Linked DNA regions of Homo sapiens: region 1 is linked to region 2. The links are contacts of gene promoters, found by promoter capture Hi-C in human tissues and cell types (Jung and others, 2019). All regions are on one chromosome and are shown on one strand. Each heading gives the region's core, a stretch centred on a gene start or on the middle of the fragment in contact. The rest is flanking DNA. Distances are from core to core; before and after follow the strand shown. Region 1 overlaps MTBP (MDM2 binding protein). Region 2 holds the start of DSCC1 (DNA replication and sister chromatid cohesion 1).

Evidence for each region. The method cuts DNA at HindIII sites, captures the fragments that hold promoters and counts their contacts. A contact is called where the count stands out against the background at its distance.
Region 1: a fragment that was not itself captured here is called in contact with the fragment with the promoter of DSCC1 in region 2 in 2 of the 25 tissues and cell types used here (lymphoblastoid cells and mesenchymal stem cells).

Annotation. Positions count from the first base shown.
Region 1 is chr8:120,504,798-120,509,298 of GRCh38, reverse strand. MTBP (MDM2 binding protein) reads right to left here. Exons shown (of 22, transcript NM_022045.5): 16 at 2,438-2,593. Among named protein-coding and RNA genes, the nearest start is that of MTBP, 62 kb to the right of the region's middle. The HindIII fragment of the contact is 4,501 bases long and covers 1-4,385 here.
Region 2 is chr8:119,853,076-119,857,674 of GRCh38, reverse strand. DSCC1 (DNA replication and sister chromatid cohesion 1) reads left to right here and starts at 1,781. Exons shown (of 9, transcript NM_024094.3): 1 at 1,781-2,061; 2 at 4,460-4,599. The coding sequence starts at 1,880. LOC105375728 (a long non-coding RNA gene) reads right to left here. Exons shown (of 4, transcript XR_928590.3): 2 at 2,873-3,000; 3 at 1,796-2,269. RefSeq lists a silencer at 1,630-1,689 and an enhancer at 1,800-2,109. The HindIII fragment of the contact is 8,457 bases long and covers 1-4,599 here.

The DNA of each region.
Region 1 (4,501 bases), core at 886-3,385, 650 kb before region 2:
AAGATTTTCCTTGGTAGAGTAAACTAATGTTTAGGCATTTAGTTAAATCCTTTTCTGCAGGGGAATAATTAAAGTCAACTTGAATCTTTGGTAACAATAAAAGTATTTACTTCCTACTAAAACACGTGGGACCCAGATCTTTCTTTGCTTGAGAATGTAGTCACTGGCACCTACTTTAAGAGTCAGCAACTTTTTAAATATCAGAGGGTATAGAGACTAACTGCTGAGTTCAGTTCTTTTTCTGAAGTAGGTTTTCAATCAACTGGCATGTTAGAACTAATCATATGTCGAGTTTACATAAAATATTCATGTTCAAGCCTTTCCACACCTAGAACTACAGCGATATATCAAAATCTGGGAAAGAAGAGGGTCACTGCAATTAGATTAAGCTCTCTGGATTATTCCGATAGGTGCCGTCCTTCTCTGAGCTGGAAACCACTGTTGTAATGTAATGGATCATGGTCCTGAAGCTCAGAAGTTCAGGAAATGGGGAAATTATGCAACAGTGGTCTTTAAATAGTTACTAGGTAAAATGAAATACCAGGGGCTTGAGTTCAGAAGAGTTGGAAATGGTATGTAGAAGGGTAAGTAAATAGTAGAGTACTAAGAATAAATTTGCTATCACATTTTCCCCCCTATGGCATTGGTAATGAAAACTGTCCTGCCACTGAAAATTATCTAGGGTACTATGATAAGCATTCGAAATTATTACATTAAAATGTAAAATTCATGCCAATTAATGAATCCTAAAAAGCAGACATTATATTCAAATGCATCCATTTAAATTATTCCACAAAAAGTAACATTAGTAAATTACAATGACCCCAGTATTTCGATGATTATTAAAATAATTTTGTAAAATGGAAATCTTTATCTAGCATTTTACTTCTTTCCTTTACCATATTGTCTCTCATTTCTCATATCAATCGCCCTCAGCAACCTTACCTATTTTTGTTTAATTTCACTCACAAGTTTTTCTTTCTAAAATAAACATGTTGATAAATATGTGTTTTGTCAATGTTTATTATTTCCTTGGTATATACATAGGAGTCATGTTTGTACTTTGTTTAACACAGTATTTTGGATGGCTTCTTGTGCAGGTAAACATTTAATAAGAGCATATAGGTTCCTGATTTATTACCATGAAAACTCATCCTTCAACTCTAATGTTAACAGAAGATACATTTGATAGCCATGCAGTTCTTTACTAACATTGAAGAATCACATCAAATTTTCCTAAATAAATCACCTACAATTAGTTTCCAGAAAGAACTAACTTTATCTCCCCTACAATGCATCTAGAAAGACATTCTGTAAAAAGAGTACAACTTACATAAATAATTCAGTTTAGGCAAACCAACTGACTCTGCCAGTTTGTGCTTAATGATTTGAAAGGACAGTAATCCAATAACTAAATAGATGAAAACATGTATATTTCTTTACTTTCTTGATTCCCACAACAAAAGGTTATCAATCTTTCAAAGTTATGGGAAAAAAATTACTCCAAAATTATATAATTTTTATGTCATTAAAATCATTAAGTCATTAAGACTCTCAAATTTTCAGTTGCTCTTTATCTCTCTCTAGTGAACATGCACATAAAGCAATAATGTTCCAGCAATATTTCTGAGATATAACTGCCTTCAAATAACTCCTTTGCAAAATTCACCTTTAAAGGCAATATTTATACAGTATAATTCCGATTAAGCTTATAAAAGTGATCAAAGTGATCTACAATTTTTAAGGTCTTTTGGAAGGTTTTCAAAGTAATGAATTAACAATTAAAAAGACATTAGAGTAATTAGTAAATTATTCAATTCTCACAGGTATTTGATGTCACAATTTTACAGTCAATTTTGTCAAAGTCAGCAACATGCAGCATTTATTAACTAGTAACTTAGTGAAAACTGTCTTGGAAGTCAAATTAGTTGTAATTTATTCACGTAGACACTGAATTCTTACTTGGCAATGTCATAGTTTCCAAAGCATTTTTATTACATTTTCCTGTTCTTCAGGTGAAAGGCCATGCTTTTTGCTACTATTAGGCATGCCTGACAATGCTCATGCTGAGTAGTGGCAATATCAACACTACAGTAACACAGAAAAGAGAACTAAAAAAAAAATTTTGTAAGTCAAATTCCTATTTTTTTTAGAAAGCATTGTCCTTTGCATACCAAATAGAAGTTACTGACTTCTACAGGGAATATGGTGAGTTTGCTTTTCTTATTCCTGTTTCTCTTATATTCAATACCACAAAACAGTAGGATATTTTGATAAGGTAAAAAGTGAAGATTAAGGCCAACAGACAAACATTGGGATCAAACTTATAAATTTTCCCTGAGTAGCATAGGACATCAATTAATAAGGAAATGAGACACAATTTTATTTAAAAGTAATTTTTAAAAAGTTAACTGGAAATTATAAGTTTATAACCTACCCCTTTTGAATCGGTAAAGGTTGAAGATCTCCAATGGGTAATCCATCTGAGGTAAAGTACTTCAGCAATTCTTTAGCATCCAACAATGTGATTGAGTCCCGAGGACCCTCTTTGTGGCCCAGCAACTGTTCAGATGAATGAGGTAATGAACCAGTTCTGGGAAAATAATGTTATGCAGATTTATTAAAAGTGGATTCAATCCAGAGAGAAGCCAGAGTCAAAAAAAAAAAAAAGCACAGTCGGGAAAAGAAGATGTGAGCAGAAACCAGAAAAACACACCAGCAACATGGGAGAATTAAACATTTAGGACAGACAATAAAGTAAAATATTTGCAAATAACTTAGTTTCTAACTATGTTTTAAAAAATCTTTAGGTCACAATAAAACTTGCAGTTATCATGTCAAGAAGTAGTATTTTAACTACTTAAAAGAAACATAATTACATTATCTATTAATGATGGCCTATTATTCAGTGGTGTGAAGTTACCAATTCTATAAAACTTAAATCTAAATTCTCTTGTATGTTCTGAAACCCCACAATACTATAAATTTTTGAGGGAAGTGACTGAATGTTCCAATTTTCCATGAACTGGAAAGATTACTTGAAGCACAACCGTGAAATGAGACAATAATCAGAAATCTCCCCAAAGTCTCTTGTAGCCATGATGATGACATTATGAATAAGCACTGAATCATTATTATATACCTGAAATACATGCAGGACTTTATATTTTTCAAACTACTTTACATATAATATATTCTTAATCCTCACAAGTTTCCTTGAAAAAGATGGAATAGGTCTTATCTCAAAATGAAATAATAACTAAAAATAAGTACTTTGTAAAGTGAAAATCGGCATGCCAAGCTTAAAAAGCAATCATTATTCCGACTTGTCAAGTAAAGATGCTAACATACAAAAGGTTACATTACAGACGCAGGGTGATACAGCTATTTAAAATGATAGAACCAGACTAACTCCAAATTAGTTATTATTTCTACTCTATGACCCTATAAATGAAAAAAAACTCACAGAAAGTTTTAAATACCGGCAAGTGAAAAGCACTGTAGTTTCAGTTAGATGTTTCCAGTTAGAGGTTTCAGTTAGAGGTTTCACTATGCACTGAATCAGATCACCTTAGCTCTGTTACCATAGCATAAATAAAATATTTCAATGTCTGCACAGAAAATTAATTTCCTAACTTCATATTAACTCAACTATTTCCTGATTATTACTCAAATTAAGCATAATTACTGATAATTACATGATTAAAATGTTGACATTACAGTTTTAAACATATTTCTGTATATTAAGGGTCAATAAAATACTGACAGTGCCTCTTTCCTCTTCCTATTCCTTTGTTTTTAAACTGAAAATATTAATCTAATAAAAACAGTCAACAAAACACTCAAATTCTCTCCGGACTTCATACTCCAGCAGGGTGGGAGCTATACAATGATTTTAATTTGTAAAGATACAGTGCCTGTCTCAGTGTCAGTGGTGATGGCCCAGAATAAAGCCCCTGTAATTTAGTGCTGGGTGAAGCACCAATGCTTCCTGCCTGCTGATACCCTAAAGTATGCCCTAAAGTGAAGCCTGACAAACATTCTCTACCCCGGCTCTCCCTTCTCCTAACATTAATATAAGTGAGAGACGTGGGGAACAGGACTAAACCTATGGAAAGAAAATACATGCCAACTACCTATAGAAAGCAACAGGGCCCTATATTCCTAGTTATGAAGAGACAATCAAGGACAACCAGACACTGGAGAAAAATTACACATAAGAGAAAAACACCAGAAGAACAAATAAAACAGCTGCAAATGGAAATGAGATAATTCAAGAAACAGATAAAACAAATTTAAAGAAAATTCTAATTAATATCCTTACAGTATCATCTCAAGTCTTATTAATAAAAGAATAGGTTGCTAGAAAAAATACAGCAGAAGAACAAGAGCAAACTATTAGAAATTTAAAATATGACTACCAAAAATTTTAACAGAAAAGATGAAACCAAAGGTAAAGGAAATTCCCCAGAACATAGAGCAGAAAAGTTAGAGATAGAAT
Region 2 (4,599 bases), core at 532-3,031:
ATAACTGTTCATTTTTTTACCTGATAAAGAATATTTTTTTCCTGCTACCAGATGAATGATTAAGCCAGCTTCAATCGTTTTTTGAAAAGGTACAGAAAATTTCTTACTTTAGAAAAACATATTAACATAATTTTAAAGAATGAATTAATAAAAACTATCATCATTTTGTCTTATGAGAGGAACACAGGTCCAGCTCCCTGACAGAATATCAAATTAATGGCAATAATTTCATACCATTAATTGGAAATTAAATTCATAATGATTAATACATAAAAACAAAAAGAACTGCTGCCATTTATTAAGCAGCCATGCATTTTAGAATGTACATCTTAAGAATGTAGGTCTTATGTGCTTTTTTATCGATAAGGAAGTTGTACTCAGAGAAATTAGGTAAATTGCCTTAGGTCACAAAGTTCTGAAGAGAGTTGGGATTCGCAGCCATGCCTGTCTGATGTAAATGTCAGGGTTCTAGTTGACACTGCTTCTAGTTGTAGGGAATGTTTCCCATTTAATAGAGCAACTACAATGGTTGATTCCCTTCAATAATAACTTCTTATCAGGCAACCACTGTCACATTCAGGATTTCATTCCACCGAATTCCTATGCATTCAAATGTAAAAGAGGCTAGTGAAGAAGTAGGTCACATGAACCAATCTTTCCACCACCAACGAAAGCACTGCCCAGACTCCTGGGATGCCCTACTCTGGTATTTTCGTATCATTTTACCCAAGAATTGAAAAAAATGTCTGCTCAGATCCTTTGAATTCAACACCTTACCCACCACTTTCTTTCACTTCAAGCAAGGTCTGATTTGCACTAACTAGTAGGAGGTCACCATCTCTTAAGTGATTCCTCCCAGACTATTTTAGCTCTCAGGGACAGCCAGGGCCCTCAACGATTCCCTAAGCATCTCTGGGAAAGTTTACACATTACGCTGTTACAAGCAATTCATGTATGTGTGCATAGTGAAAACCTTTTCTCTTAAAACTCTTAATACTGAAGTTCCCCAAACCTTTGGAAAATGTACAAGTCACAGATGCTCCTGTGACTTGTTTTTCCCTTCGGGTGCGTCCTCAACCTTGCTTAAATAAACCTCTATTGAACGAGACCTGCATCAGTCACTTTTCGGTTAACACTAGGTATTCAACGAATAGACTAGTCCCGCCGTTGTCTCCAGATATGATGGTGCCCTGACCCAAAGAAGCGAGATACTCCTTCCCAGGGCCTCGCTCCCGAGCATGGGTTATTTGCACAAAACCCCGCAGGAAGCTTTTAGAGCCACAGTCGGCTAGGCTGGAGTCAGACTCTGTTACCTCCTGACTCTGCCATCACGAGCAAGGAGCCTGCTTCCTCATTGGCAAAAGGGAATGACCAAGGCACCACCTTACAGGGTTGTGGCAACGGGCTCATGGAATTATACATGCCAAGTGGTTATCACAGGGCCCGCCACTGGCGGAAGGTGAGACAATGTGGACGGCGAGGAAATGGGAGCATCGGCTGGAAACCAGGGACGGAGATCGGGGATGGGGGGCGGGCAAGGGGACAGCGGAAAGGGTGGGCGAGGGATCCGTGTCCCAACCCGCCGAGTCGCAGCTCTGCCCCTGCGAGCTTCCGCCGAGACCGCCCCCCGGGAAGCCGCGTTTCCTTCCTGCAGTCGCGGTCCGGCGTGGGGCACGGAGGGGCTCGCGCTCCCAGAAGCCGGCAGGCCTTCCCGCGGGCGGGCCCGCAGCGCGCTCCGCCCCGGAAACACGCCCATGGCCGCCTTGGCGCGCTTTCAAACGCTCAGGTTTCCTACCTTCCGGCTGCTTGGGAACTTCTTTCTTGCCCGCCAAGCCCGCAGCCACCCGGGCGCGGCGGGACTCCTAGACCCGGCGCTGCGATGAAGAGGACCCGCGACGAGGTGGATGCGACGCTGCAGATCGCCAAGCTGAATGCGGCCGAGCTGCTGCCGGCGGTGCACTGCCTGGGCTTCGGCCCTGGGGCCAGCGGCGCTGCAGCCGGCGACTTCTGCCTGCTGGAGCTGGAGCCCACGCTGTGCCAGCAGCTGGAGGATGGACACAGGTGAGCCCTGGTCACGCGGCGCCCCCAGCCTCTGGCCGGCCACGTTATTTTCTCAGCGGGGAAAGTCGGGATAAGAAAACAGGGCCAGAGAGATGCACTGACCTGGCCGGGGGCTCATAGCAAGCTGCCTGTTCCCGAGGAGTCCACGCCTCCGGTGGGCCGTCCAGTTAGCTGCACTGCGGTGATGAGTAGCACTGGTCCAGCTGACCTTGGAGGCATGTGTCAGCGGGAGCAAGTCAGGAAATACTAATACAACCTCCGTGAAGTTTTTGAAGAGTTACCGGTGATTACAGGGACTCTACAGGACACCTGTCACTCTACCTTAAAATACAGTGGTGATACCCAATGTTTATAGAACTCTTGCCTTCCACTTATATTTATTTTACTCAGATGATAGATAGGAAGTGCTGGGAATCAGCTTACAGACTTGGTAATTGGGTGAGACCCCTACCCACCCCGAAGCAAACTTGCTTAGTAGGGATCTGAAGCTGTTTCTAATTCCAGGTCAGATACAAACTTGCTGCAAGATCATTGATTAGAAGTCGAAGTTGAGGTAGTTTTTTAAAGGCAGTCTTGAGAAGTCTAGAGAATCGTTATATCCCTCCACCCTGTGCAGCCCCAGCTCCTGCAAAATAGGGAGCTCCAGCTTGATTCTCTTTTGCACAATTGGTCCTCCGACACCTATATTTTATTAGGCTATTTTTTCTCTTTTTTCTTAATGGAATCCTTTAGGCTGTCTTTCAGTTTTCGTACTTTGCCCACCAAAGAGTGTTAGAGTAAACTGGCCATTCTTCAGATACCTGCTATATACCTCAAAGTACCTTTAAGGGAACTGAAAGAACTTCACTAGTCTGTTTCCATCCCGGTTCAGTTGGTGGAGAGTTGAGAAAGGAACTCAGGTGTGAGGACTTTCTCTCGGTCCAGTTCTAGTTAATCTAGCTGGCAAAAACAAAACAAAACAAAAACAAAAAAATAAAAACAGGCCCTGGAAACGTGTGTTTTTAATTTTGGGGTGTAGGGAGTGATGGTATAAACAAAATATTTCAAAGTGGGGGTAGTGCAGTTAGAGAAATAAATGTTAAAGACTAGGTACTTGGGCCTATTAAGCATTATTAGCATTAGGAATCTAAAAAACCTTTTATTCTTTTTACTTAAATGAAGACTTAGTCAAAAATAAATACACAGTCTGCTATTTCAGGTTTCTTATTATTTATTCAAAAGAAACGAGTTGTGCACAGGAGAATTAAATGCTTTACAGACAAGGAAAACTGCTAGAACCAACTCCCCTGTCATTGCCATCATCTTTGTCTTTAATCCTTCCTTTTCCTCCGCTTCACCTTCATCCTTTCCTCTTCCTTCTTTTTTCTTTATCTTTTTTTTGGGGAGAGAGTGGTGGGAACAGGGTCTCACTCTGTCAGCCAGGCTGGAGTGCAGTGGCACAATCACGGCTCTCTGCATGATGGTGCCATGACTACTTGGGGTCAGGCGATCCTCCCACCAGCCTCCTGAGTAGCTGAGACTTAAGGTGTGCATCATCACACCCAGCTAACTTTTAAATTTTTCTTTTGTAGTGATGGGGTCTTGCTATGTTTCTCAGGCTGGTCTCAAACTCCTGCTCTCGAGCGATCTTCTGGCCTCAGCCTCCTAAAGTGCTAGGATTACAGGCATGAGCCACTGCGTTCTTGCTTTTCTTCAAAATCCCTTTGTCAAAGTCTTTGGTTTAGTACAGTTTTTAAACATATCCTTTTCATATTTTTCATTCACCACTGCATCCTTTTTTTCATAAGGTCCCAATTTTTTTGCAACACAACTTATGGTTAGGCCAGGATGTGCTCCTTTGATTGTGAGGGGGTACTCAGAACAAAACAAGGACGACACTTGGGTGGGGTACCATGAGCAGCAGCTTGGCCTTGGCCTTTCTTCGGGAACTTGTTAGAAATACGGGACCCTGGGTCCCATCCTAGACCCAGTGTATCCCACTCTGCTTTTGAACAACACTCTCTAAGATGCCTATGCATAAATTTGAGAAGTACCACTTTAGCATGTTGTAGAAAATTGAGACAGCTTGACTGAAGCTTCAGGATGCTTTGTCTTGTGTTCTTTCCAGCAGTTTGCACAAGATGCCATGTAGTGCCATTTGGCCTCTTGGCCTCTATGGATCTGTCTTGCCCATCTTTAATTATTTTTCCTTAATGAGGCTCTGGGTGGGGCGTCTGTGTGGCTCTCAGTTGGCCCAATGCTTGCTGTGTGGAATCCAGCATTGTGCTAGCAGGGGGCAGAGGCAGCATCAAAACTTAATTCTAAGTTCTGCAAGCCTAGAGGGTTTGAGAACTGTTTATGATGAAAATGGCTACTGGATTGTCAATAAACTATATATTTTTCCCCCATTTTGCTACAGTCTTGTGATTCGTGGTGATAAAGACGAGCAAGCTGTGCTGTGCAGTAAAGACAAAACATACGACTTGAAGATAGCAGACACTTCCAATATGTTGCTTTTCATTCCTGGTTGTAAAACTCCGGACCAGTTGAAGAAGGAAG